Linked DNA regions of Homo sapiens: region 2 is linked to region 1. Evidence: promoter capture Hi-C in 16 types of primary human blood cells and fetal thymus (Javierre and others, 2016). All regions are on one chromosome and are shown on one strand. Each heading gives the region's core, a stretch centred on a gene start or on the middle of the fragment in contact. The rest is flanking DNA. Distances are from core to core; before and after follow the strand shown. Region 1 holds the start of STYK1 (serine/threonine/tyrosine kinase 1). Region 2 has its middle 56 kb from the start of LINC01252.

Region 1 (3,960 bases), core at 823-3,322:
AGGCTAAACTGGAGAAGGAAGAGATCTCCAGTGTATATTTCAGTGTGACTTCCCACTACCGTTCAGTACTTAATCTGGACAGAGAGATAATGGGCATTCAACAAATTCCTATGGAATTAATAATGAGGCAGAAATAACGATCTGGTAGAAACACTGGGGCCAAAGCATTGTTGACAATGAGTTGGAGGCTTATAAATTTGAGATGGAGGTAATAATTGAAATTACAAGGGAATGAAAACTTGAAGAAAAAAGAGAAATAATGGATATTCTAACCATCTTATTAATGAGTATAATGTGTGGGACTAGCTATACATATATAACTCCTGGTGAATGTCTGCTGTGTAACTCAGACTATTTGGTACTTAGTTGTTTCTGTGTGTGGGCATTATCATTTCCAGTGTTTTCTCTAACTCAAAATGTTTTTAATGTATAATTTATGTGATTTGCTCAAAAAAATTGGAGAGAAAAATTTTGCCTCCCCTTTCTGGATTGTATTTTGGTTTCTTTTTTAACTTCTATTTCTATAATAGTAACTAGATTTTAGACAAAATTCTGTGCATCAGAATGAGTATCTAGCAATACATTGCAGAAATTTTAAAAATGAGTAAACCACTTTATCTGTCATGGAGGAGCATGCTTGGGGAGGTAGAGTAGAAAATTACATAATATGAAGTTCCAATCAGTTCATTTGGATTTGATGTATCACTTATGACATAAAGAATCTAAAGAACAACTAACTGATGAGATGTCTTCCTTTCCCCTTTTGAGGTAAAATTCACATAACATAAAATCAACCATTAGCCATTTAAAAATGAACAGTTCAGTGGCATTAAGTACAATTCATCCTGTTTTTAAAAAGCCCTGAAGGAAGTGAAAATGCCAATAGAGAAAGCTCTAGAGAACTGACATACCTCAATCTCTAAATATGCCACATTACATTGACTCAAGTTCTTTTTGCTCTAATGACTGTCAGTTTGTGTTTGGTATGCGTTCAATGCTGAATAAATTGGTCACATATTCAAGTTACCTATGACTCTTATTTCTTTAATTGAATTTGTATTAGGTGTTAATATCTAACAGAATTCCTTCAGCTATCTATTGTCTTAAGTATTTTCTATTATTTTAGTTTCCATGTGGACGGGTAACATAACTACCTTGTTCACTGTTTCCCCAGAGGAGAACCCAGGACATAATGGGATATATGTGTGTGTGTGTGTGTGTGTGTGTGTGTGCGCGCGCGCGCGCGCGCGGGCTCTAAATGAATGATCTATTACGTAATCTTGGGGTTTTAATTCTCATTAATTCCTTATAGGTTCCCCCACGTCTCCGCAGTGGTCAGTACTTTTTTTTTTCTTTTTTTTTTTTTTTTTTCTGAGACGGAGTCTTGCTCTGTCGCCCAAGCTGCAATGCAGTGGCACAATCTCGGCTCTATGCGATCTCTGCCTCCTGGGTTCAAGAGATTCTCCTGCTTCAGCCTCCTGAGTAGCTGGGATTATAGGCGCCCGCCATCACGCCTAATTTTTGTATTTTTAGTAGAGACGGGGTTTCGCCACGTTGGCCAGGCTGGTCTCGAACTGCTGACCTCAGGTGATCCACCCGCCTTGGCCTCTCAAAGTTCTGGGATTACAGGCGTAAGCCACCACTCCCGTCCCTTCAGTATTATCTTGTAACACCCCGGCAAAGCCTTCAGGTGGAGAATGTTCCTGGCGCGGAATAATCCACCTGAATGTGAATCCTGACCATTTTTAGGCGCCAATGGAGGCCGCTGCTACGGGGCCGGCCGTGAGGTGGCGCTGTTGCCCTGTATCGTGACTCCGTTTTCACCTGGACTGGAGTCACCGTGATACCTGACATCTAGCAATCACTAGAGTAGGAAATGAGTATAGATCAGCAACAAGTCCAGCCTTTACAGTTGCAGCAGAGGTTTCCTGTGGCTCGAGTGTGGCGAGTCCCGGAAACCTCGGAGCCCGCAGACTTCCCTTCGCGGGAGCCCGCCCGAACTCCATCCTTTGCCGGCAGCCACGCCCCGCAGTGGGAAGGAGGGACTGAAAAGCATTTCCTTGAGGCTGGCACACCTTGCCCTACCCAACCCTGTCATTATTTCCCCTCCGACTGGGCCGGTGCCATCGGAAACCGGAGTGACCAGAGGAGGGACACGGTAGTGAACGGGGTATGGGGGGCGGGCGCGGCGGGGAGGGTAAAGAAGGTGGGAAGGGAATGGCAGCGAGGCAGCTGGGGGAGGACTTTGCAGTTGGGGAGGGAGAAAAAGGGAAGAGGCTGGGAGCGGAACGGGTGTTTATGTGAACAAACAGAAATCACCAAGTGAATTAACCTGTGTTTCTTCGGAACCAGCATCTTGTGGGGTTTGGCTTCTGTGTTTCTATATGATAAGGGAGTAAACCTGACTCAGCAGATTTGGTGCAGAGAGAAACATGAGAAAACCCAGGAATGGGGGACCTCTGTTTATTCCTGGAGAGGGGGCCATCAGGAGAGGGGGAAGGGAAAGAATGAGGTTACAGGAATTACTTGTCAGAGGACTGCATAGCCTTTCAGACCATGGAATCGTTGCTTTCAGCTTCGGCTTCCTCATCTGCAAAGCATAAATACGGTAATTACTTTCCAGGGTTGTTGCGATATTTAAATGAGATATCAATAACCATGCTTTAAAAGTGTACAGCCTGATGTGCTATCCCTTGTTGACTGAATCTCTGTTTTCTTTCCTTCTTTTTATTTGGGGTGGGGAGTGGGGGAGGGAGTCTTGCTCTGTCACTCAGGCTGGAGTGCAATGGCGCGATCTCGGTTCACTGCAACCTCCGCCTCCCAGGTTCAAGCGATTCTCCTGCCTCAGCCTCCCAAGTAGCTGGGATTACAGGCTCCCACCACCACGGCCGGCTATTTATTTTTTTGTATTTTTAGTAGAGACGGGGTTTCACCATTTTAGCCTCTGTTTTCTTTTCAATGTCTTTTTTCCTCTTTCATTTTTCTCTATCAACCCTTCATCCCCCCTTTCTTTCTTTCATTTATGCGATTGTTGCTTCCTTCTGTAATGGGTCCTCTCCACATTGGAGTTTCTTATACCTATGAGACCACACTTCCTTCCCACTCGGTGGGAAGTAGTGGCAATAAAGGAGTCGAGTTACTGTAATGTGCAGCACAGCTCAACTGAAATACACCTGGAAACAGAACTCTGTGCTGTCTACCTGGTTTTTCCCCCTCAATGCACCGGAATCTCCACTGACAGCTAGCTAGGGGGCAGCTAGGTCTTTCAATGAGACATCATGAAGTATTTGCTTCAATGAAAATCATATACTTTTTCGTTCAGTGCCTCCATTACTGTGTGAGTTTGCTAGGGCTGCTGTAACAAGGTACCACAAACTGCATGGCTTTTGGCACCAGGCACCAGGGACTGATTTTGTGGAAGACAATTTTTTTCACAGATGCCGATGAGGTTGGCGGGAGATGGTTTCAGAATGAAACTGTTCCACCTTACGTCATCAGGCATTAGAGTCTCATAAGGAGTTCGCAACCTATATCCCTCACATGAGCAGTTCACAATAGGGTTCACGCTCCTATGACAATCTAATGCTAGTGGGCACGGTGGCTCACACCTGTAATCACACCACTTTAGGAGGAGTTGGTGGGTGGATCGCCCTGAGTTCAGGAGTTTGAGACCAGCCTGGGCAACTTGGCGAAACCCATCTCTACCAAAAATACAAGAGGAAGAAAAAGAAAGAAAATCTAATGTCGTGGCTTATCTGACAGGAGGAGGAGCTCAGGAGGCAATGACAGCGATGGGGAGTGGCTGTAAATGCAGATGAAGCTTTGCTGGCTCACCTGCCTCTGATTTCCTGCTGTGCACCCCGTACCTGTCGGCGCCCCGGGTGTTGGTGACCTCTGGCTTAAACAACGAAATGATTTTCTCACAGTTCAGTAGGCTGGCTATCCAAAACTAACATGTTA
Region 2 (3,960 bases), core at 756-3,255, 820 kb before region 1:
AGGTGGTACAGAGCTAACATAGCCTGGTATGGGTGTCAGAACCTGCACTGGGTGAAGACAGTGTTAATGTGAGGAAGGAGTGTGTCCTGATGCGGAGTGTCAGAGCCCAAGCCAGTTAAGGAAGGCATCTTATGGGAGAGTGGCTTGCAATGGGAATCAGAGTCAGAGCAGGGAGGGAGTGGCAGGGAAGATGGGAGATAAGTTACATACACTGGGATTGATCAAATAGGTAAATATATTTAAGGTTATTGGAAGCCAGGTTTTTCACTATCTGAGAAGGAAATTGCAAGTATAGAAAGAGAAGAAACTGGAATGATCCCTGTGATCTGTGGTACTAGATTGGGATTGAAGGTATCAGTAGATTTATGGTTTTTAGTATGTAGGTAGACAGATACAGATAAAGGTGTAGATGTAAATGTAATTGGTGTGTGTATGTATGTTTGTACTGAAAAAAAAAAGGAGCCAAACAAATAAAATTATGGGAAAATGGCAAAAGGACATGAAACCAGCTCAAATGGCTTCCACTGATCAAATCTGCTTCATGGTGTAGCCCAGGGGTTTTTAAACATTCTGTATAATCATCAACTTAAAAATACAATGCCAGGAGTGTCCATAGTTTGTGGTAGCACGTAGACAGATATAGATATGGGTATAGAAGTAAATGTGATGGTATTTGATATTTTCCTCTTGTAGTTCTCATGGAATGTCTTGACTGGTGTAGAATAGAATTGAATCATTATCTTTTAGAGTCTAGATTTGATAATTCTGCTAATATAGTCTAGGATCACATTAATTATTGGGTGGGAGAGACATTTGGGCGGTAAGAGGACATTTACTATTGGTGATATCAAGTTTTCCGTCTATTGAAATGTTAATATATTTTCTTCATGTCCAGCTGCTAAGCTACATTGTTTTTAAACTATATGTATGAAGCTGAGATGTTTCACTGGGTCATGTGATGCCTCATTATTCTATTGATTTATTTGAAAAAACATTGTGAACATGAAATCATGTCAAAGGCTTTCTTATGCTGACAGGTGGCCAGGGGCTGAAGAATGCTGATTATCCCCCTCCTTTGTGATGTCATATTACCTTTAGAGCCTTCAATTTCACCACTTGCGTGGACCATAATAGTTTTTATGTCTCCCAATGTAGTTTGTAGTTTGCTCCCCCGTGGATTGCCTATTACTTCCGGGTCAAATTATATGTTATCTATTTCTACCCTCCGACACCCACCTTTACAGTAGCTGCTTATTAGTGTGTGACTGGTCTGGTGAGTAAGCACAGTGAAGGGACTGGCCTCAGAATGCACACTTACGGAGCCAGATAATGGTTCTCAATGACTGACCGCGTCCAAATGGAGAGGAAAACAGACATTAAATGCCTCCTGAAGAACCGCTGACACCTATGATGTAGTCTTGCAGAGCAAAAATTGGCCCTGAGCCCGATCAAGCCTCAGGGTGTAACTACCAATGTATAGGAAATAGACAAAACAGAAGAATGTGTTAAATGGCATTAAAGGCATGTAGCTCAGCAAAATCCAGACTGTGGGGGAAATTCTATAGAAAAAACAACCCAGCTATTTCAATTAAGATTTTTAAAAGCAAGAAAAAATAGACAAAAGGAGGAATTTATAGATAAAATGAGGCTTAGGAGACATTTCAATTCATCACAGGGTCTGAATCATATCTGCAAAACAATTCAAACAAACAAATGGAAAAAGCGTTTTAAGATCAGAGAAATAGAAACATGAAATACTTAATGATACTAAGCAATTAATTTTCTAGGTGTGGTAATAATGATGCCAATTATAATCCCAAAAGACACAATTCCGAATGCTGTAATCCCAAATGTTGAAACCCCAAATGTTGAGATACTGAAAGCTGAATTCTGGCGATGGGATTAGCGCATTTTTGGTTGCATAAAAGGTAGTTGTATCATGTTAGTTGCATCATGTTTGGTGGAACTAGCACCTTGTTGTGGTCTTTATTTGGAAATTAAATATGGTGTAAGGAGATGCAAGTAAGTGTCATGTTAACAAGAGGTGAATTTGTGGACTTAATTTTAGATGTAAACTTAACCAGATTAAGGAATAACTAAAAACCTGGTAAAGCATTATTTTGGGTGTGTCTGCGAGGACGTTTCCACAGGAGATTATGTATGAGTCTGAGAGGACTATGTGGGGAAGATCTGCCCTTGGTGGTGGGAGACACCATGCCGTGGGCCAGGAGCCCAGGAGCCCAGAGATAACAAATACAGAAGGTGAATTGATCTGTCTCTGAGAGCTGGGACCAACTTGTCCCATCACAATTTTTGATCGATCTCATCAAAAGACTTAGGATGCTCTTCACGGTATTTCAGATGAACTAAGAAAGCTGGGTGCACACATTTACTAACCATAGTGATATGCGTTTATACATTTCACTTTTTGACCTATTTCCTTTTTTTCCTTCAACTTTTATTTTAAGTTCAGGTGTTCATGAGCAGGGTGTGCAGGTTTGTTACATAGGTAAATGTGTGCCATGGTGGTTTGCTGCACAGATCAACCCATCACCTAGGTATTAAGTCCAGCATCCATTAGCTATGCTTCCTGATGCTCTCCCTCCCCACCGACACCCCCCAGTAGGCCCCAGTGTGTGTCGTTTCCCTCCATGTGGCTTTTTGACCTATTTCTTTGTGAATATGATTCATAATTGTTATACCCATGTGACTGTCTTTAGCATACCTGAGTGTTTATGTTTATGAAAATATGTATGTTATTATTGTCCATTTTATTGTGTAAAGTGGCCTATGGTCTGTTGTGTTTTTATGTTTCTCAAATAAATCCTCTTTAAAACATGTAAATGAATGTCTTTTAAAGAATTTTTTATGATTTATTTTAGGAATTTGACCTTTCGGGATTTGAGATTGTGGCATTTTGAGTTGTATCTTTTGGGATTATGAACCCAGTAACAACAAAGATCAAATGGACTGACTCTCTATTCTGTTGCATTGATCTATATGTCTCTCTTTATGTCAATATTATATTAACTTGATTACTATAGCTTTATTTTATTTAAAAACACAGAATTTAATATCTTCTTTAATTCACTAAATAGGATACAAAAAGCATGAACCACAAAAAAATGAGAAATTGGACTTCACCAAAATTTAAAACTTCTATTTTTTCCACACGCACTTTCTGCTTATCTAAAAAACTTGTTTTTTGAACAACACTATTAAGAAAATAAAAGCTGGGTGCAGTGGCATGCCCCTGTAGTAGTCCCAGCTACTTGAGATGCTGAGGTGGAAGGATTGCTTGAGCCCAGGAGTTTGATGATTGTAGTGTACAATGATTGCATGCCTCTGAGTAGTCACTGCACTCTAGCCTGGGCAGCATACATCTCTAAAATAGTAAGTAAGCAAATAAAATAAATTTTTTAAAATGAGAAGATAAGCCACAGACTGGGAGAAAATGTTTATGACACTTGCTAACAAAGGGCTAGTATCCAGAATATATAAAGCACTCTTACTACTTAATAATAAGACAAATAATTCAGAAAAAAAGTGGTGAAAAGATTTGAACAGACACCTAAATAAGGGTGGTGTATAAGTGCATGAAAAAATACTCAACATTATTATTCACTGAGGAAATGAAACTTAAATCCACAGTGAGATACCATAAAACACTCATGAGAATGACTAAAGTTAAAAAGACAGACAATACCAAGTGATGGTGAGAAGGTGAAGGAAATGGATCTCTCATGGATTTCTGGTAAGAATTCAAAATAGTAGCACCGTTTTGGAAAACGGTTTGTTAGTTACCTAAAAAGTTAAATATAAAGTGCCCATACGACCCATCAGTTCCACTCCCAAGAGGAATGAAAATATATGTCTACACTAAGGCCTGTATGTAAATGTTTATAGTTGATTCATCCATAAGAGCCACAAACTGGGAACAACCCAAATGTCCATCACCTG

What was found. Contacts are between HindIII fragments. The CHiCAGO score rates a contact against its expected background, and 5 or more counts as called.
Region 2: a fragment that was not itself captured here is called in contact with the fragment with the promoter of STYK1 in region 1 in 1 of 17 cell types (M2 macrophages); the score reaches 7.3 in M2 macrophages.

The regions. Positions count from the first base shown.
Region 1 is chr12:10,672,164-10,676,123 of GRCh38, reverse strand. It overlaps STYK1 (serine/threonine/tyrosine kinase 1), which reads left to right and starts at 2,072. Exons shown (of 11, transcript NM_018423.3): 1 at 2,072-2,158. The HindIII fragment of the contact is 4,755 bases long and covers 1-3,822 here.
Region 2 is chr12:11,490,189-11,494,148 of GRCh38, reverse strand. No RefSeq gene overlaps it. Among named protein-coding and RNA genes, the nearest start is that of LINC01252, 56 kb to the left of the region's middle. The HindIII fragment of the contact is 6,876 bases long and covers 1-3,960 here.